Regions from separate parts of the Homo sapiens genome. Here all the other regions are linked to region 5. The links are contacts of gene promoters, found by promoter capture Hi-C in blood cells and fetal thymus (Javierre and others, 2016). All regions are on one chromosome and are shown on one strand. The core of a region is centred on a gene start or on the middle of the fragment in contact, and the rest is flanking DNA. Distances in the headings are between cores, read along the strand shown.

What was found. Contacts are between HindIII fragments. The CHiCAGO score rates a contact against its expected background, and 5 or more counts as called.
Region 1: a contact is called between a fragment that was not itself captured here and the fragment with the promoter of LIG3 in region 5, in 1 of 17 cell types (M0 macrophages). The highest score is 6.6, in M0 macrophages.
Region 2: a contact is called between a fragment that was not itself captured here and the fragment with the promoter of LIG3 in region 5, in 3 of 17 cell types (fetal thymus, total CD8 T cells and naive CD8 T cells). The highest score is 6.4, in fetal thymus.
Region 3: a fragment that was not itself captured here is called in contact with the fragment with the promoter of LIG3 in region 5 in 1 of 17 cell types (erythroblasts); the score reaches 6.2 in erythroblasts.
Region 4: a fragment that was not itself captured here is called in contact with the fragment with the promoter of LIG3 in region 5 in 4 of 17 cell types (naive CD8 T cells, activated CD4 T cells, total CD4 T cells and 1 more); the score reaches 7.6 in naive CD8 T cells.

What each region holds. Positions count from the first base shown.
Region 1 is chr17:34,447,174-34,451,269 of GRCh38, reverse strand. No RefSeq gene overlaps it. Among named protein-coding and RNA genes, the nearest start is that of CCL1, 86 kb to the right of the region's middle. The HindIII fragment of the contact is 2,043 bases long and covers 330-2,372 here.
Region 2 is chr17:35,594,913-35,599,192 of GRCh38, reverse strand. AP2B1 (adaptor related protein complex 2 subunit beta 1) reads right to left here. Exons shown (of 22, transcript NM_001030006.2): 3 at 858-963. It also overlaps the pseudogene LOC100420062. Among named protein-coding and RNA genes, the nearest start is that of AP2B1, 9.7 kb to the right of the region's middle. The HindIII fragment of the contact is 5,699 bases long and covers 1-4,280 here.
Region 3 is chr17:34,376,837-34,380,986 of GRCh38, reverse strand. No RefSeq gene overlaps it. Among named protein-coding and RNA genes, the nearest start is that of CCL1, 16 kb to the right of the region's middle. The HindIII fragment of the contact is 1,900 bases long and covers 1,200-3,099 here.
Region 4 is chr17:35,611,516-35,615,568 of GRCh38, reverse strand. All of the region lies in intron 5 of AP2B1 (adaptor related protein complex 2 subunit beta 1), which reads right to left. Among named protein-coding and RNA genes, the nearest start is that of AP2B1, 26 kb to the right of the region's middle. The HindIII fragment of the contact is 979 bases long and covers 2,182-3,160 here.
Region 5 is chr17:34,978,174-34,982,070 of GRCh38, reverse strand. It overlaps LIG3 (DNA ligase 3), which reads right to left and starts at 1,559. Exons shown (of 20, transcript NM_013975.4): 1 at 1,449-1,559. RefSeq lists a silencer at 1,105-1,534. The HindIII fragment of the contact is 8,847 bases long and covers 1-3,897 here.

The DNA.
Region 1 (4,096 bases), core at 102-2,601, 530 kb after region 5:
GGGTCTTCATGCATTTACATCACCTTCTTATGGCTGAGATCTAGTTAAATTGAATGTATATTCTGTGAGTTTGATAATGTGCCCAGTGTTGTGCATGGTATTGTGGAAGGCAGAGAAAGATGATACCTGCTTTTCAGAAGTGCCCACCTGAAAATAAGCAGAGAAGGAGCAGGAACAAGGCTAGCAGGGTGGGCTCATGGTCTACTGTGTGTTCTTGGCAAGACCTACCTTGAGGCTTAAGGGTTGGGAGAATGTCACTATAGGTTGGGGGCAAGCAAAAATGCTTTGTAGAAGAGGTGGGATGTCACCTGTTCTGTAAAGGCTAAGCTTAGGAGAGGAAGGGAGAAGACCATTCCAGGACACAGTTGGTGCTTGACAAATATTTATTAAATGGAAGCATGAATATACAATTATTTTCTTCCTGGATATTTTAAAGTATCTGTCTTTTTAAGTGATTGTTTAAAATATTAAAAACAGACTATTTTAACACTATCTGTAATAGCACCAAACTGGAAACTACCCAAATGTCCATCAATAGTAGAATGGATAAGCAAATCATAATATAATTATACAATAGAATAATATCTAGCAATTAGAATGGCCACTCTACAATGACACACAACCTTATGGAAGCATGATGTTGTACAAAAGGAGGTATACACAAAGGAGGAGCAGTTATAAGATTTTGTTTCTATGAAGTGCAAAAAGAGACAGAGCTAATCTATGGTGCTTGAGATCAGTATGGTGGATTTAGGCAGTAGTGATGGGAAGGGAGTCCAAGGGCAGCTTCGGGAAGGCTCTATTTCTTGATCTACATATTATGTACACATTGGTTCAGTTTTTGAAAAATGTATGGGCTGTGCACTTATGATAAGTTCATTTTTCTGTATGTTGTATTTCAATAAAAAGTAAACCAACAAACAAAAACAGGCTATGTTCTCAGCTTGACTTCCTAGACCCCATGTTCTCTTGCCTTCTCTCATCGATACCAGATGGCATGACCTGTGAAGATATTTTTTAAAGAATGGCAGGCTTTGCTCAAGGAGTAGCCTCTCCTAAGACCAGAAGAGAAAAGGCAGATAATCTTTTCCCCCATTTTAATGATTGGGAAACTGAGGCTTGTAGATATGAAATAAAGCCCTTTTTTCATATAGTGAGTCACTGTAAGAAAGAACTTTTGTCTTCTGGGAGCCTCCATCCTGTGGCCCAGCTAATAGGTACCTGTTCAGCCAGATGCACCTCAAGAGACAAAGACTGTTACAGGAAGTCAGAGTGATGGGTGGGAATACCTGGAGGTGTTCAGTGGGCTTTGCTATCCCCCACTTTCATGGTCATGTCCACATAAAGTAGCACCTGGAGGGTTCTCAGCCTGCCATCTGCTTTTGTGAGATTTGAGTGAGTCAGTTATTGTCCCTGGACCTGTGGCCCCAACTATAAAATTAGGGATTGAACTCAATAACAATAAGGCATAAGTTTCCTCCCAGTTCTAATATTTCAGGTATAAATCTGAACCAGTGCCATCCATATTAGATTAGGCAGAGTCTCTGCTATTCTGTACCCTTAGAGGGCTGTGCGGGGTCAGGATTAAAGAAATAAATCTGAAATCTGTATGATATTTTAAAGCATTTCTTCATTCATTTGTTCACTCATTCACTCCAGAACCCTTCATTGAGCATCTGCTGTATGCTAGGTCCTTAAATAACTTACATTCTGGGGAGACAGACACAGTAATTAGTTGTAAAAGTGTATCAGTGTCATACATACAGTTACATATCAAATGCTGTGGACATACAGAAGACTTTATTGGTGCTTTGGGGGTGAGGTTAGGCCACAGAAGGCTTCCTAGAGGAGGCGATATTTGAGCTGGATCTGGAGGAAGGAAGAGATCAGACTGGGTAAATTGAGGTAGGAGTCAGTCACATCCTTGTTAGAGAGAAGAACGTATCTAGAGGCAGAGGAGCTGGAAAGGCATTTCTGTGGGTTCAAACCTGAACACGGAGAGTGAGTGGCAACAGCTGAGGCTGAAGCCTTGAACACCATGATTTTGTGTAGGGTGTAGGATTTGGCAGTGGGGGCCACATTCAGGATGAGTGTGAGACTAGAGTGAGGTGCAGGACCTGTGAGGGACCCTTCTCCTCGCTTTTCTACCACAGTTCGGTGAGACTTGGGTGCACATCCCCCGCCCTCTTAGATTGTCCAGTCAATAAGCTCTATAAGGAGCCAAAGCTAAAAAGCAAGATCAATGTAGTTGCCATCGATCCTGCCTCAGCGGCTGATTAGTACCAGGGACTTGGCTGATCCTGAGAGCTCATTGCTAATGCACCATGAAACTCAGATTAAACTAGTAGCGCCCAGCAGCCCTGGGGAAAGCTTCTGCCCTCTCCAGATGCATGGGGGTAGTGGAAGAGGTCCTGACCCCAACTTGCTGGAGCCTTTTGCTACCCAGATGAACAACGTAAGTCCCCTAAGCAACCAGCAGACATCTGATCATGGCATTTCTTTGCTTAACTCCTCTCCATGTACCCCATTGCCTCTGGGGTCTGTGCAAACTCCCTAATTGGGCAAACCTGCCCTCTGCAATCTGGCCCCTGACTGCCTCTTCCAGCCTCAAACATGTTGCCTTCCCCTTACCTTCTGAGTCAGTCCAGCAGAACTGCCTTCAGGGCCTCCAACTTTGCCATCACATTGCATGGAGTCACTTGTCATTTCTTCCAGTAGCCTTCCCTAACCCTCCTTCCACCACCACCACTAAAATCTGACTTAGGCACCTTTCCAAGGTCTCCCTGTACTTTCCTGAGCAGACCAAGGATAAGAAAATACTGTAATTGCTTACTTTCTTGTCTCATCCTGCATTCAGAATCACCTTGGAGCTTTGAAAAATATATAGATTCAGATTCGTTGGCCTGGAATGGGGCTTGGGTACTGATGCTTTTGCCACTTCCCTCCAGGGATCCTAAGGTGCAATCGTAGCTGAGAATCACTAGACCAGAGTCTGAGCACTAAGGAGTCAGGGACCAGGTTGATCACTTAGCCTCTCTGTCCCTGGCACCTAGCACAGTGCCCTGGCACATAGTATGTGCCCAGTGAATATTTGTGGAATTGTACTGTCCTGGAGGGAACATAAGGCCTAGGCTGAGCACTCTCACCAGCTAGAATGTTCCTCTGTTGGACAGTACAAAGAGCCGGGTTGGCTCTCAGTGAATAGCTTAGGTCATTGAGGAAGCTCTTCCATAACACATCATATCACATTTAACTCCCAGCTGGTCTGTGAGGCAGGAAGATGAGTAATAAAATGTCCTTTTGTCAAGGGGGACCCTGAAACCCAGAGAAGGTAAGTGGCCATGCCTGAGTATCACAGCAAGAATGAACAGAGCCAAGATTCCTCCCTGTCATCTCTCCACAATTTCTTTCCTTAAGTCTTGTTACCAAGCGCTTCCTTAGACTGAATCAAAGTCTCCTCTGAGGCCAATCGTTCTGCAGTCATTGGCCCTCACCCCTTTCCCTGTCTATTCCCTTTCCCTGGGGCAACCTTGCCACAGTGGAAGGGGGTGGCCTCCCTAGGCCACCAGCTGAGGGAAGCAGTTGGAAAGGCTGGCATGGAAGCAGTGGCTCGAGAGTGCCAGGCCAGAAACCAGCAGAAATGGGCTCGAGGCCAGTGTCTGTCACTTATGAGTCCTGTGAACTTGCACCTGTCACCTGTCTTCCTAGGGCCACACCAGCAAAGCAGGAAGTGCAAACTCCTGAGCCACTGGCCCCATCCAGAAAATGGGGCTGACAACTCTCAAAGTACTATCAGGTGAGATGACATACAATAAAGGACTGTGCAGACCTCAAAGGGCTGTGCATAAGGATCATAAAGCTTGGAGGAGAGGCTTGGTCCAGACATTCACCTCATCTCTTCCTGGGCTTTAGCCTGAGCTTGCTTCCCCTAATCTCTCCATTTCTATAAAAACAGCTGCTCTTTTTGGCCTTCCCCATGGGATACTAACCAGAGCAGACCAACCACAGCATGGGAAGCCTCACTAACATGCTCCATGGTAGTTTATTTGGATTCAAGAGCTATGAAATGAGACATAATGATGGATCAGCTTGAACA
Region 2 (4,280 bases), core at 1,367-3,866, 620 kb before region 5:
CATTGCACTGCTACGCAGCAGAAGAGATTTATGGGTAATCCCTATTTCATCAAACACAATATTAAAAAGGTTCAAGTTTTAATAAAACAAATTTTTACTGCTCATGAAGGACATTCCTAAGTGAAACTGCTCTTTTTTAGCACATGGTGTTAAGGAATACAATGACTACCATTATGGTTGGCACCACTGCCTTCATTCATGCTGAGGCACCAGCAGTTTTACCCACCACTGCTTTGCACCATCACTGTAAACATCCAAATAGTGAAAAAGGCAAGTAACATCTAAGTATTATTATGAAAACAGCTTTGACCTCACGGACCCCCCGAAAGGGTCTTAGGATAATCCTTAGGGGCCTGCATATAGTCCTTACTTATTTCCAAATGGTCTTAATTACAGAAATAAAAAATAAGACTACATGGATTTGGTTAACATTGATTTTCATCTTGAATCCAGCAATTGAATGTACAGTTGTAAAGTTGAGGGCAGTGGCTTGAGCCAGTTAAAGATCATGTGAACTTATGCTTCTCAGTGTATTTTTATCATCTTCTAAAACGACCTCAGCAAAAAGATTTGTAACTGTGCCAGCTCTCAGGAGGTGTTATGCTAGATCTGAATGCAATGAAATCAAACTCGTTTCACTGTTCTAACACAAACACACACACACCCCATAACAAACAAACAAACAAAAAGTAGAGCATTAATACAAAGGCAACTGCACTTCCTAATGATGTTTTTAGTGGGACAAACCCATTCTTAGAGGTTCTATGATTATGATACTTTTAAAGGAAAAGCAGTAAAGGCCATAAGATGGGGTATGGACCTCTGAAGTGATCAATGGCAAGGGTGATTACTCTTACCTAACATCCTTCCCCACGGTCATAGCAGCAATCACTTTCTTCACAGCCTCCTTTCTCTTTTCTTTCTTTTCATTGTTGAGTTCAGCTTTTAGTTCAAATATTTCTCCTGCAAGAGATGAGAGCAAACTGGTAAGGTTCCAGTACCACAGACTTAGAGCAGAATACTACACTATGTAATAACCAATACCAGGATAGCAGGGCAGCAACTAAAATAAGATTTTAAAATTATAGAATATATAAAATTCAAAGCCCTAGAATATTACCTGACTCACTGACAAGGAAGCCATCAGTAAGTTTTAAAAATCTTTTAAATTATGGCCAGAGAGGAAGGTGCAATCCAGATCTTCAAGAACCACAAGAGTGGGAAAAACCAAATCTCATTATATCTAGCTACAATGGGGAGAGAACAGTATATGAAGGATGATCTTCCATCAGAATGTTAAAGTCTGGAGGAGAACATAAACGTAGGTAGGGAGCAGGCGCGTATTACCTCATTTACCCACGCTCGGCTTTACAGATTAAGAAATGAGGCTCAAAGTTCACAGAGTCAGTGACAAAGTTGGGCTTAGCACTGTGTCTCCTGACTCTTGAATGCAAAGGTTCTCAGCCCTGGCCACACACTAATATTACCTGAGAAATACTAAATATAGCAAAGTACAGGCTCCACTCTGGGCCAAATAAATCATAATGTCAAAGAGAACTCATATTTATACCTTTAAGAGCTCCACCAAGTGACTCTAACGCACACCCAATGTTGAGAATCACTACTTTAATCAGTACTTTAATAAATCAGTGGGCTTTAAGGCCCTTGCTATTCAATCAAACAAGAATAATCTTGAAACCAAGAATGGTACACAATGGAGTCATTTCCAAAGGTACAATCTTGAATGACTGCTTAGGCTCCGCACTGTAAACTGTCAGGGACTGTAACCACTATTTTAAGGCCTGGTCTCCAGGCTCACCTATCTGCAAGAAGCCGGAACCAAAATAAAAAAGAAAGTAACAACCCTAATATTGTTTAAAAGAAACGGAAAAAAAACACTAAGTCCATGAAAAAGAGGTTGACTACTCCCATCTCAACTTTCCATCTACATCCTCCAGCTCATCTACCATACTGCCTCAAAAGACTTTCCTCCACCTTCAAGACTGTTCCTGTCGTTCCTTTCAACCAGATCTCATTTACCAGCATAGAAACAGTGGGGACAGTCTCCGCTTCCGGAGGTCGCTACTGCTGCCTCAGTGGCCCCGGAGCGGGGGCGCCCAGGGGTCCTTCGCCCCCGGCCACGGCCCCCACAACGGGGCTTCGCCGCCACCTGTGTCCGAGCTGGACCGTGCAGGCGCCAGGCTCCTCTCCGAAAGGCGCACGAGACAGCTTTCTTCTCCTGGTTCCACAATGGCCTCCTGGCATAGGGCATCGGGGTTATCTCCTTCATGCAGAGTGACATGGATCACGAAGCAGCATATGGCTTCTTCCTGCTGGGCGGCCTGTGTGCGGTGTGGGGCAGCGCCTGCGGGGCCTGGCAGCGCTGCGGGGGCCCATGCAGCTGACGCTAGGGGGCGCAGCTGCGGGCGCTGTACTCGCCACCAGCCCGCTCTGGGTGTGCGCCGCCGTGGGCTTCTACACCGGGCAGCTGGAGCTGGACGTGAAGCTGGTGCTCGAGGGCGACGGGGCGGCCTCCGCGGAAGGCCCTGATGAGGCAGGCTGGCCGCCACCCGAGTGAGCGACATGGCCGCCGGGCCTGGCAGGCGCGGGATGACGGCGCCCGAGGACTGGGACATTAAAACCTGACCTCCCCTCCTCCAAAAAAAAAAAAAAGAAAGAAATAGTGGGGACAAACACTACGTGATTTGCCTGAAACCATTATGTGGAAAGGATGAAATTAGTAAGACACAGAAGTAGAGCACTTTTTCGTTTCAATATCCATGGCCAATAAGGCAAAAAAATTGTTCCAAAATTTCTATTTAATCAACAGCTACAAAAGTAGCATAGCAAGAAAAGCTGGGCCCTTTAAAGAGTCATTCTTCATAGGACTCTTCACCATGTCCCATCCTGCCAAATCCAGCTCTTAGAGTTCCTCTCATTCACTTCCGGGAACAGTGAAGGACAAACGGCGGGGTTTCAGAAAGTCTGAATTGTGAACAGCAGCAGGTGTTATAGAATCAAAGCAGGATGTAACAGAAATTATTCCAATTCCAAAAGCATAAATTTAAAGAATATGTTTCAGTGGCAGTTCTGGTGGGTGTTGCAGGAAGTACAGGGAACACAATCTATCAATTTTTTTTAAGTATGATGTTTATTAGCAGTGATTCAATCTGCAGTCTCAAACTTTTACAAATGCCTGAATTAAAAAAAGGTCACCAGGACACTTTTCAAGAGTAGGTTTGAAGAATTAGGAGAGTTTTAAAATTATAACTATTTAATTGTAATTGTATCCCTTTATATAATTATAGACATTTTGTTCGTCAAAGCACACAAAATGCTAACAGAAGAAGAAATAAACATATTTCCAAAAGAAAATCAGAAAAAGCTGAGACTGAATGACAAGTGGCTAATGGCTTTTGTGAGGTGTAAGTAATAAAAATAAGGAGGAAAAAGTTGGGCAGGACCAAAGAGGGGTACTAAAAGAGGCAAAGTCATATATTCTACAACTTTATTAAATTCCTATATTTTCTCCCTCCTCCTCCCCCCAATCAAATCTACCAAGCACTGTTAGCAGCTAGCAGTAGTTCTCAATCATGGCTGCACATTAAAATAATCTGGGGAGCTTTCTTTTTAATTTTTTTCTTTTGAGACAGGGTCTCTCTCTGTTGCCTAGGCTGGGGTACAGCGGCACAATCACGACTCACTGCAGCCTCAACCTCCTGCACTCAAGTGATCCTCCCACCTCAGCCTCCCAAATAGCTGGGACTACAGGTGTGCACCACCGTACAGGGCTAATTTTTAAATTTTTTTTCATAGAGATAGGGTCTTACCATGTTGCCCAGGCTGGTCTCAAACTCCTGCACTCAAACAATCCTCCTGTCTCAGCCTCCCAATGTGCTGGGATTACAGGCATAAGCCACCATGCCTGGCCACCTGGAGAACCTTTAAAATCCTCACACCCAGACCATATCCAGGACAACTGAAATCAGGCTGAGGTTGAGACCCAGGCATCAGTATTATTTCAAAGTTCCCTGGCTGAGCAATTCTGATGTGTTGCCAAGACTGAAAGCTACAGACAACAAACTGACATAATTAAGCAACTCACTGCAACAAGAGAAAAAGAAGAATGGTAGTTGGCGCCATGTCTGGAATACTTTGGTAAATGTAAGGACTCCTGAACACAAAAGCACAGAATTCTGATCCTAAGCAACAAATAAAGCAAGCTAAGCTACAGGCACAATAAGCTGAGATGGGCTAAAATGTTTGTCTTTGATGGGAAG
Region 3 (4,150 bases), core at 900-3,399, 600 kb after region 5:
TTACATCCTGATATCTGTGTCCAAGGTGAGGTTCTGAGGGGTAAAGGTAAATACAAATTGAAGAGCACTCTCTAAGCTGAAAGAAAGTCATGTCTGTTATGATTCATTCCCAGTTTGGTTTTGGATGGCATTGGAGAATGCTGTGAGCACTGCCGCATTGCTGTGCTGATTTAGGCAGTTTCGCCACCAGCCTGGAAAAGGAGACATGGGCTCTGCGCTCTACCCTTGCTCCCTGGTAAGTCGCTAAGCTCTGAACTTTGCTCCCTAAACTTGAAGTGGTCCTTTATTCACAAAGGGGGAATTACTTGAAAATGTCAGATGAGACATCTATAATTTGTTGCTTTAAATAAAATAGAAGCAAAATGCTAAAAAGGTTACCTTGAATTTTAATACCTGTGAAAGGTCCATGTTTCAGCTTTCTTCCAATAGCCAAACCATATTCTACCTTGTGCCTTATAGCCAAGCAAGGCTAAAAGCTCCCTGTTTTAAGTGTTTGCTGTTTATTTTATTTTGGGACAAGAGGGAAAAGGGGCAAAGTGTGAAGGTGAGGAAAAGGTTACCACCTCACAAATATTTTCATTTATCTTGAATGTTAATATCTAGTGCAGTGCCATTGACAACAGTAACTTTACGTAAGAGGAAACATCAAACTCTCCCTTGGGTGGGCCCAAAAAAAGTGATGTATCCTGGACCACATTTGTGCTTTTTATGTATTCCCAGACGTATGGTAGGGCACCTACATTGATAATTGGTCTTTGTTCCAAATTGCGTAAACATTGGGGAAAAAAAAAACAAACTTACATTTGTTGCCTTTCGGTGTATGCCAAAGAAAAGTGAGAATGTTCACGAAATTCTCTTTGGCATAATCTTAGTTAAACTGACAACATGCATAACTTGCCTGCAGAACATGAGGCAAGTACAGTCATTCTTTCATTCACAGGAATTTTGTGGTTTTCTGACATGTGTCTCCACTGTAGATATTACTACTACTCTGCAGTTGGAAACTTATCTTTTTCTAACTAATTAACTAAGTAAGGCCTGGAGAAAAATGAATTTACATGTTTCATTAATTACATAAGGGTCCATTTTACAGCCTTAATAGCCAGGCGGAGTAAGTGGACCAAATTATGGAGAATGGGTACATTTTGTAAAAATACTTAAAAGTACCATTGCGGAGAGAGTGACAGTTTCAAAAAGCTTGTTTTTAATGTTGACAAAAATCATGATCAGAATTTGCTTCCATTTACTATAATTCAGGGGTCAAAAACTGAAAAGCTGAAATACCTTCAGAGTCCCAGGAGGAGCTGACTATGACTAGAAAACGCATGGCATCTAAAGGGGACAGGCAGGGTGTTAATTTGCTCCAGGTGATAGGCAGCAAGCAGGAGTTACATTGTGTCATCTACTTTTCTAATTGATCAAGGAAGGCCGGAGATTTTATGAGATTTGATGTTTGAATTTTGAAGATTAAACGCTTTCAATAAAATATGTGCTCCAACAATATATGGTGGGCTGAGGCTTAGACTACTGGTTTGCATCTTCTAATGTAATTGAATTACTTTCGCCCCTTCCTAACTTATTTGAAGTTTGGTTTTAAGCAAATGCATTTGTGGTTTTGATGAACATCATATGGCCAATAACTTTTTAAAAGCATCTGTGAAACAATTCTAACTGGTTTGAATTTGGAAAAAAAAATCAAAAAAGGTGGCTTAATTTCACAGGTTTCTTTAAAGGGCATCTGCCAAGTAGAAGACTGGCAAGAAAAAATTGGTTCCTAAGGAAGAAGTACAGGTAGTAGGTTGCGTAGTTTGAGGACAGGGATTTTATCCACAAGGAGGTAATTATATGACCTGCTGCTACCTTTCTTAGGGCCTTCTGATTATATAGTAACCTGTTTCCTTGCTACTTTGCTTTGGTTCAAGCAGTTTCTTCTGCAGGTTTTCTCATAAATGAAAACACTGCAAGAATACCAAAGACAGCAATGTTTGTGTTAGTGATTTAAAACATCTGCATGGGGCCAACATCGATTACTGAAAGTCAACTAATGAGAATTAGAGACTTCTGAAGTATACCTGTTTGCTTACGGGTCTCACTTTGAGGTGGCTGGAAGGTTTCGAAAGAATAGTTTTTCTTGTTTTTTTTTTTTTCTGTTTCGTTTTTGCTCAAGTTCCTCTTTCTGAGATCTGGAGACTGTCCGCGGTTCCCTGCTCACTGTTGTCCCTGGAGTCTGCCTGAAAGAAAGCATTTTTTAAAACTGTTGAAATATTTTGCAGTTTTCTACACTGTATTTGTAAATATTTATCTTTTGCTAAGTTTCTGTTTCTTTATCTTCTGGACTTAAAATTTGCGGCAGTTCTTAGGGTAGCATTGCATGTTGTAGAAATTGATAATTGCATTGAGTTACTCATTATAGTATGTAACTCTGGGGTGGAGTTTGTTTAATGTGTACAGGGACTAGAAGGTCAATAAAAATGAAAATGGTTGTCTGGATAGTGGAGCTACTACAATTTGTTAAACCTATACATCTTTTCAATAAAAATATTAACATACTTTTTAAGGAGACAACTTAAAAACAAGTTACAAATGGGAGATTATGTTGCAATACACATACCAAAAGGATTAATATAAGAACATATCAAGAGCTCCTTCAAATCTGCAGGAGGCTCTATTCTCATTTAAAAGGGTTTAGAATGTATTTCTTCACACCGTTGACTTTGAGGTTGGCCATGTACCTCCCTTGAGCCAATAGACTGTTAGCAGATATGGGCCAGGCACGGTGGCTCAGGCCTGTAATCCCAGCACTTTGGGAGGCCGAGGCGGGCGGATCATGAGGTCAGGAGATCGAGACCATCCTGGCTAACACGGTGAAAACCTGTCTCTACTAAAAATACAAAAAATTAGCCGGGTGTTGTGGCGGGTGCCTGTAGTCCCAGTTACTCAGGAGGCTGAGGCAGGAGAATGGTGTGAACCCGGGAGGTGGAGCTTGCAGTGAGCTGAGATCGCGCCACTGCACTCCAGCCTGGGTGACACAGTGAGACTGTCTCAGAAAAAAAAAAAAGAATGTTAGCAGATATGACATGCCAGATCCCAGCAGAAGCTTTGAAAGCATTGCAAGTTTCTGATAATCCTCTTTCTCTTGGACCCTCTGCCAGTAGAATGTCCTGTCCTGAGCAAGAGCTGTTCCTTTAGCTGGACCCTGGAATTGGGAAGACTTGTGACAAAGACTGACATGACCCACAGCTTAATGAAGGGCTGCAGTTGGCCCGCAGACTTAAGAGCAAAAAAGAGAAATGTTTCTTGTTATCAGCCACAGATATTTTGGGGTTGCTTGTTGCTGCAGCAAAAGCTGGCCGATACAGAAATTAATACCTAGAAGAGAGAAATTGCTCTAACCAAAGGATAAGATGTACAGATTTGGCTTTGCAGCTGGGTGGCAGACAGCAGAGAAATTATTATAGGGGCTAGAGAAATGGCAACCTATGGAATGCTGTAGTGAAACATTTGGTAAAACTGTCACATATGATAACTCGGAGGGCAGAAAATAAACCTACTGAATTTATAGCTTTGGGAGAAGAGGTTTTGAGACAGAATTGGTTAGTGTGAGTTAGCTTTTACTAGCTACATTTCATGAGGTACTACAAGAAAGAAATGATGTCAGCAAAGGGCAGGCTCATTTGCAAGTGGAACTGAAAGGGAATATAGAAAGTCTAGAAATGCTAGGGCTAAGAGTGTTGAAAGATGCAATAATCTCTCACTTCCAACCTCTGTGGTTAAAAAAATTCTCAAAATAATACATAGCTTTAAGGCACAAAACAAAACAAAGGCATGGCTATGAACACTTAGCCTGGAGACCAAGACCAAATCCAGGGCACAACTGTCACTGCCTTTGTTAAGACTTCTGATAAGAATACGGCACTCCCAGGGAATCCTGTCCATTAGACAGAATGTCTCATGGAAAGGTCTCCTAAAGCCTGATGATGTCAGAGTACTTGAAACTACATATAGAGGGAGAGCAAGACATGTCTCAAAATGAATTGTGGATTTGGCTACTGACATTTCGAAAAGGGTTTTCGAGAGAGTTACATTGCTGAAAGTGCTGCCAGCCTAGGTTAAATAAGACTGATTTTTAAGGACATGAAAGGATCTTGAG
Region 4 (4,053 bases), core at 1,422-3,921, 630 kb before region 5:
AATAGGCAGTTTAACATAGCCTACATGAATACCAAATATATTCTGACAAAAATTCTTAGAAAGAGATCTAGACAGATGGCATTTTTTCAATATTTTATCATCTTAGGTTGACAACAAATCACCACACAAGTAAACTTCCTAATGCCTAAATGAAGATTATAACAACCGGAAGGTGCATAATGTTAGGCCACTTCCTCAAGAATAGCTGCAGTTTATTAAGCATTTACCATATATCAGGCAAAGTTTAAAATTTTAAATACATTATTCTTTCATCTTCAAAATAATTCACTAAAATCGGCATTATTACCTCAGTTTTACATATAAGACAACTGAAGTTCATTTTAAATAACTTGTTCAAAGCCACATTTCTAGTAAGCAGCCAAGCCAGGACTCAAACAGCAGCCACTCTGGCTCTGAAGCCTCAGTGCTATTTCCATAATCCAGGGTTTCACAACCTTGGCATTATTAACATTTACTGCTGGATAATTCTTTGTTGTCGGGGGACTGTCCTGTACACTGAAGGATGTTGAAAACATCCCTGGACTCTACCCGATATATGCCAGTAGCACTCCTCCCATCAGGTTTGACAACCAAAAAAATGTTACTAGACATTGCCAAATGTCCTCTGGAGAGTAGAATCACTCCTGGTTGAGAACCACCATCATAATCCCATGCTGTGTCTACGTGCTGGCTAGCACATAGTCAAAATACATACTGCTTTCTGAGAAGAAAAATGTTATTTTTCATAAAATGGTTTTCAAGCAAAAGTTCAAATTAAAAGAAGCTGGAAGTTTAACTACAACTTTTGGTAAAGATTATATTTGGCCTGAATTGAGGCTATTCTGAGAGCATGCTGCTTATGCAGAAGAACACTTAACAAATGAGAAATTTTTTTTTTTTTTTTTTTTTTTTTACTAATTCAACAGTTTGCAATTTTGCAGAGAGGACAGAACAATGAAGCACAGGTATTCTCATGGGCAGCTGTGAGAGTGATAGACAGTCTGGAAGATGAAGATCAAAGGGGCTACGCAGTAAACCAAAGGGACTTACGAGGACTGAACCCAAGAAGACAAAAAGCAGGCCAGGCATGGTGGCTCACGCCTATAATCTCAGTACTTTGAGAGGCTGAGGCTGGAGGCCTGCTTTAAGCTAGGAGATTGAGACCAACCTGGGCAACAAAACAAGATCCATCTCTACAAAAAATAAAATAAAATAAATTAGCTGGGCATGGTAGCATATGCCTGTAGTTCCAGTTGCTCGGGAAGACTGTTTGAGCCCAGGAGTTTGAGGCTGCACTGAGCTATGATCAAGCCATTGCACACCAGCCTGGGTGACAGAGCAAGACCAGGTCTCTCAAAAAATAAAAAGTAAATTTTTAAAATAAATAAAAACAAAAAGCAAAGCACATATGGTGGGGCTGTCAAGAGCATCTCTGGAGTTGCAAATTCTAATATACGTAAGTTAACTGAGGTTTGAATACCCCTAAATGCCTCTGAGAGCAAAAAAGAAAACCATAGTAACGAAGCTAGAGAATACTATCATTCATTCAAAAGTGCATATCTCAATAAAACAAGTCATATACCAAAAAGATACACATTTTCTTGCAAATATATACTTGTGACATTTGTAAAAAAAACCACAAAAGCTATTTCCCTATAGCTCTAAAATGTTTCCTTATTCTGGATGGAGGTTTACCTTCAAAATAATGAACTAATAAAGTCCACATCTGACGACAAGTTTAATTCCCTTGGAACAGATAGTCCATACAAATATTAAAGGAATCAGAACCTTTTAAATTAATATTGTAGCAATAATGTTAACCTCTGCCTAATACCTACTTCATAATTACAGTAGCAGCCACCACTTATGAGCTCCCATAAGCCAAGCACTTTACAGGGCACTTTTCATGCAAAAGCTCAATTAATAATCCAAACAACTCTCTAAGATAGTAGCCTTCATCTTCCAGGAAAGGAAACAGACTTGGGTAAGTTAAACAACATGAACATAAAGCTAGGACTTAATAGAGTGAGATTTTTTTACTTCTAAATTCATCTTTTCTCTCTTAACTAGTATTTCATCAAAAGTTAGCTTCAACTAAACTATAAATTGTAAAACAACTGCAGGAAAGTAAGATGTATGTGATTCTCTGCAAAACACAGGAAACAAAACTATGGTAAAGCTTTGTTACCTGCAGCAAGGCACAGTGTCACTAGGAACCAGACTTGAGGTCAATATAACACCAAGAATTTTCAGCCCTCGACCAACATTTATCTCTCATATTAGAAGATTTCAAAGTCATTTCTGCAGATATTCTAGTGCTTTCAAATCTAGGATGCCCTTCTGAAGTGAGCTACAAGAAAACTACTAAGGCACAACCCCTGGAAGCATTCATTCTTTTCTTTTCTAAGAGAATCTAATATGTGCTGGTGCAGTGCTGCCACCATGTGGAGTAGCCTCTGAAAAAGTGGAACAAAATCACTCCTCAAGAGCAGTAAAATAAGGACTCATATCCATCACTGGAATAAGAGGATTGATATTTCTTTTTTTTTTGTATCTTTCATTTTTTTTTTCTTTTTTGAGATTTCTATAATGAAGCAGTGTTCAGATAACTCAGTCTTTATGTATTCAAACGTAAACACTTTGAGAAAATGAAGCAGTTCTGTGTGTGTGTGTGTGTGTGTGTGTGTGCGCACATACACATTTAAATGACCTCAGGTGATCCACCCTCCTCAGCCTCCCAAACTGCTGGGATGACAGGCGTGAGCCACCACACCTGGCCTAAATTCTCTGGTATACATTCATCCATGAAGGTAGTAACCAGCAATGGAGTCTGGGACTCAGAACTAGGTTGGGATCCTAGCTACATTACTACTAGCTGCATGATTTTAGGAAGAGTTCTTCAGTCTGAGTAAACATTTCTTGACCTGTAACATGGAATAACCTCTGCTTTAAGGAGAAATGTGAGAACTAAGTGAAACATTGTAAGTAAAAGCATCTACCACTGTGCATGGCATAGAAGGCACTTAAATTTAAGTGTTCTAATGACAGTTGTAATACTCTAAGGTAATAAGTAGGGAATACAGTTGAGATGAAAAGTATAAATTCAAAATAAAAAGTAGGTATGTATCTATGTGTGTTGGCTACCTCTTAAGCCCAAGCTTTTCAGTTCTTCACTAAAACAAGAATGAAGAGCTCAAAAAATGATTTTAATATGAGTATGTGTAACAAGGCCAGGACAAGAGTAAGGCAAGTGAGGCACTCCAGGCACAAAACTAAGGAGGCACTCTGTTCTCAGGCTTGTGAGGTACAGAGTTCGCACCTGAGAATGAGTGTCTTCTTAAATTTTACACTCCAGGCACCTCTTTAGGCTAAGTCAAACAATATCAGAAAAGTTCTGCTACTGAGTTCTGACAAAACAGCAAAGATCTTCTATTCAGAGAGCAGTTGGTCCAATAATTTGCTATCTAATGCTGACACCCTGCTCTAGGAAAATCTATAAATAAAGAGACAACAAAATATGAGGTATTCCTGAAACTGTTTCTCAAAAATCTACCAAGTAGCTTTAAATTTTCTCTAAAAGTCTCCTCAAAAATATTTATGAAAATCTCCCCAAGTCACGTTTTGATTTGTTGTAGTAAAAACAGGTTAAAAATTAAGAACACTATACAGTTTACTATAATATTATGATATACTAAATTCAAATAGAGACCTATTCATGTGCTGCCTGCTTAAATTTTATATAGCTAGGGGATGGGGAAAGAAAATAAGTAAAACAAGATTGGCATGTATTGATGACTAGTGAATCTAGTGATGATAAATGAATTCATTTTATTTATTGTATTCATTTATTTGTCCTAATTTTGAATGTTTGAAGATTCCCACAATAAAAAACACAAATACATAAATAGCATACGTATGCCACCTGATTTTATGGACTAGATGAAAACTAGCTCTCTCCTTTGCAATGTAAACTTTGAATAAATCGGACAAACTAAGCTTGTTCCAGAATCATTTTATTCTTCTCGGTTTATCTGGATAAAGATCTCTAAATGT
Region 5 (3,897 bases), core at 310-2,809:
TTCTAAGAGTAAAACCCTTAAAACAGTTGGGCACACAGCAAGAGCTCTCATTAACGTCAGCTCCTATTATGATCGGTGACGTCGTTATCTTTCAAGAAGAGGCTTCCGATGTGCAATTAACCTGTTTATCATTCAGCAACTTGAATCAGAGAATGCTGAAGTCACTGGGCAGCAAGACTCACAGGAACTCATAAATCAATCCAAATGGAAAAAGATTATATCAGCATCTTCTTATATTCATGTTTTCTAAAGCATTTTATAGTCCTAGTTTTAAGTATACTGGAATTATGTTCAGTCTGCACACGCTGTGAAGCAAAATTGCTGTCACGTTATAATAAAAAGCAGGCTTTGCTTACTGTAGTGCAACATGATGTGAAGGAAAGCTGGTGGACCTGGAATAAGGGATGGGAGTGCAAGTCTGACTGTACAGTTTACTGACTGTTACCTCGGAGAAAACTCTTAATTTATCTGCATCTGTTTTCTTATTTCTAAAGCAGGGTAAATAATACCTACCTCACAGGGTAGTTGGGAAAATTACAAGGAATCCATGAATGCGCTGGTTGTGGGGGAGGGAGGCTGTTCTGAGCTCTCTAAAAATGTATACAAAATGTACATTCGATAAAAATGCACGGTTTTTTGGAGGAGGTCTATCACTTTCGTGATATTCACAAAGGGCTATATAACTCCCAAAGTTTAAGAACCACAGAGGTGAGGTAAGTGGAAGTACGGCAGACCCATAAAAGGAGGTCAGAACAAGTGAGTTTCAACACTTTTCCTAGAAGATCAATTTACAGAGCAACCTCTAGGGCCCCAATAATGAAAGGAGTGGACTTGAGGGAGGCTCGGGAGGCGCTGGGCCACGAGGAGGCACAATGCAGCTTTGAGGAAACCCGTCTGTCCCTCGTTCCGCACCCTCACAACTGCCGCAGCCCAGGGGCCCGAGAAGGAAATCGCTGAGGCCTGGCCGCCGCCGCTTTTCTCGAAGGGCTTCCCGCGCCGCTGTCGGAGAGTGGCGGGGACAGTGGGGTCGGCGGCGTAGGCCGCGACCCCCGGCGAGGCAGAAAGGAGCGCTCCTCCACCGGGTCCGGGACGCAGGCGGGAAGTGATCAAGGCTCCCTGAGTCCCACCCGAGCGCTCCCGGTTCAGCGCAGGAGGACGCACGCCGGGCCAGGGTACGAGAAGGCCCCGTGGGTTCCACAGGGAACACAGCCCGGGCGCCGGCCTCCCCGCCTCACGCGGCCCCGTGGGGGTCCCGGGGAGCCGCGAGCCTCCCCCTGGGCTCCCGGGAGGGCCGCCACGTCACGGAGGGTGTGCCCCGGGGCTCCGCAGGCGGGCGGGGGAGGAGCCGGGGGGCTGGCTCCCCGGCCGCGCCGAGCTCCTCGCCCCGGGCCCGCTGCCTTCCCCACGCCGGGCCCCGCCGCGCCGTGCCGCGCCGCGTAGCCCCTCACCTGCCTCTCCGGCTCCGGCGCTCACCGTAGGCCTCGGAACTTGCTCATTACAGGCCGCGGGCAGCCCACGACGGTTGGAGCGCCTGTCTCTTTAAATCCGGGTCCTAGAGCGGGAGGCAGCGCGCAGGCGCAAGAGCCAAGGCCGCGGCCACGCGACCGGTCCCCGCCCCCGTCTGCCACGTGGGTCGTAGTTGCATTCTGCCTGCCCTGTGATGTTTGGGAGTAGTTTTCAACCTGCAATCGCGGCCCGGGAAGCGGAGGTGGGGGGACGTGGCGGCTCCTCGGAACGCAGCCTGGCCTGAACTTCCGAGGCTCCCCTTGATTTTCTCATACTGTTAGAGAGGATCTGTTTTTAAAGATATTGGTGGAGAAACTATATTGTAATGAGGTCGGGGAAGGCAAAGATCGCGTCAATCTATTTTTTAAATATAATCCCTCTGTTTGTGTCCCGCAGACTCCCTAGTAAATAGTTTGTATTCAGTAGCTTTCATGGAATTGAGACGAGGCACTAAACAGCAGATAGATATAAAATGTAAAGGAGTGATGGAGGAGAAACTCCTTGATTGTATATCATTCAAAGTGTATTATCTCAAATCTGAAGCCAGCTCTTTGAGAGTTGGGATGGCGATTTTTACAAATGTAGCAGCCTGAGGGTAAGTGACCTCTTCAGAGTCTAGGAAGAGCAAACAACTGGGCCTTGTTAGGTAAGCAAAGAACAGGTTCCCGAGAGAATTCTGTGCTGTGTGATGAAGAGTGTCGTCTTTACTCTGTAGAGGACGGAGAGCCATGAAGAGTCTTAGGGAATACTGCTGAAGCTGGGTGGGGAGAGACTGAGGCAAGGGAACAAATCAGAAGGCTCTCATAGTGACCCATGTGGGAGATGATTCAGCTAGTTAGGGTGGAGAGTAAAGTGCGTTTTTGAAGATCATTTAGAATTTAAATGATCTTCTAGATAAAGTGCTCGTTTATGGATAAAATAATAATAATTTGAGTGAGCAGAAACATAATGGTACCATCAACTGAAATAGAAAATAGAGAGGAAGAGGAGGTGTTAGGGTTAGAAAGATGAGTTTTGTATTGGATACATTAAGTTTGTTTGACTAAGTTTAACTGCGATTCTACTGTTTGGAGGGGAGTAAAGCCTGCTTTTAATGCGCAGCAGAATGAACCAGGGCTTTGGTTCAACCAGGCAATTGGAAGGTCGCTGGAGACTCACGTCCTAGCTATGATAATTGAGTGATCTTGAGCACGTCTCTACAACTACATTTGCTACATTTTTTTAAGTTTCCTCAACCGTATCTGTCTTTTTCCAATGCTGTAATCACTAGCCACACGTGACTATTGAGCACTTGAATGTTGCATGGAATTGAGATGTGCTATAAGTGAAGAAAATACACACCAAAAAATTCATACTAAAAAAAGTAAAATATCTCATTAATAATATGTACCACATAATGACATTTAGGCCAACAATGGACCAAATATATGAGGGTGGTCCCATAAGATTATAATGGAGCTGAAAAATCCCTATCATATAGTGACAGCACATTACTCATGTGTTTGTGGAGATGCTGGTGGAAACGAACCTACTCCATTGCCAGTTGTATAAAAGCATAGCACACACTATTATGTACAGTATATAAAACTTTATAATGATAATAAAGGACGATGTTGCTGGTTTATATATTTAGTATACTATACCTTTTATTGTCATTAAATTAAATTAATTAATTTAGTTATTTTTGAGACAGAGTCTCGCTGTGTCGCCCAGGCTGGAGTGCAGTGCCACGATCTTGGCTCACTGCAACCTCTGCCTCCCAGGTTCAAGTGATTCTCCTGCCTCAGCCTCCCAAGTAGCTGGGATTACAGGCCCTTGCCACCACAATGGGCTAATAATTTTTTTTTTTTTTTTTTGCGACAGAGTTTTGTTCTTGTCGCCCAGGCTGGAGTGCAGTGGCAGGATTTTGGCTCACTGCAACCTCTGCCTCCTAGGTTCAAGCAATTCTCCTCCCTCAGCCTCCTGAGTAGCTGGAATTACAGGCACCCGCCACCACGCCTGGCTAATTTTTGTATTTTTAGTAGAGACGGGGTTTCACGATGTTGGCCAGGCTGGTCTCAAACTCTTGACCTCAAGTGATCCGCCTGCCTCGGCCTCCCAAAGTGCTGAGATGACAGGCATGAAACACTATGCCCAGCCTTATTGTTATTTTAGAGTATACTACTACTTATTGAAAAAAAAAAAGCTAACTGTAAAACAGCATCAGGTAGGTCCTTTAGGAGGTATTCCAGAAGAAGGCATTGTTATCAGAGGAGATGACAGCTCCACGTGTGACATTGCCCCTGAAGGCCTTCCAGTAGGACAAGATGTAGAGGTGGAGGATGGTGATATTGATGATCCTGACCCTCTGTAGGCTTACTAGGCTAATGTGTGTGTTTCTGTCTTGTTAAC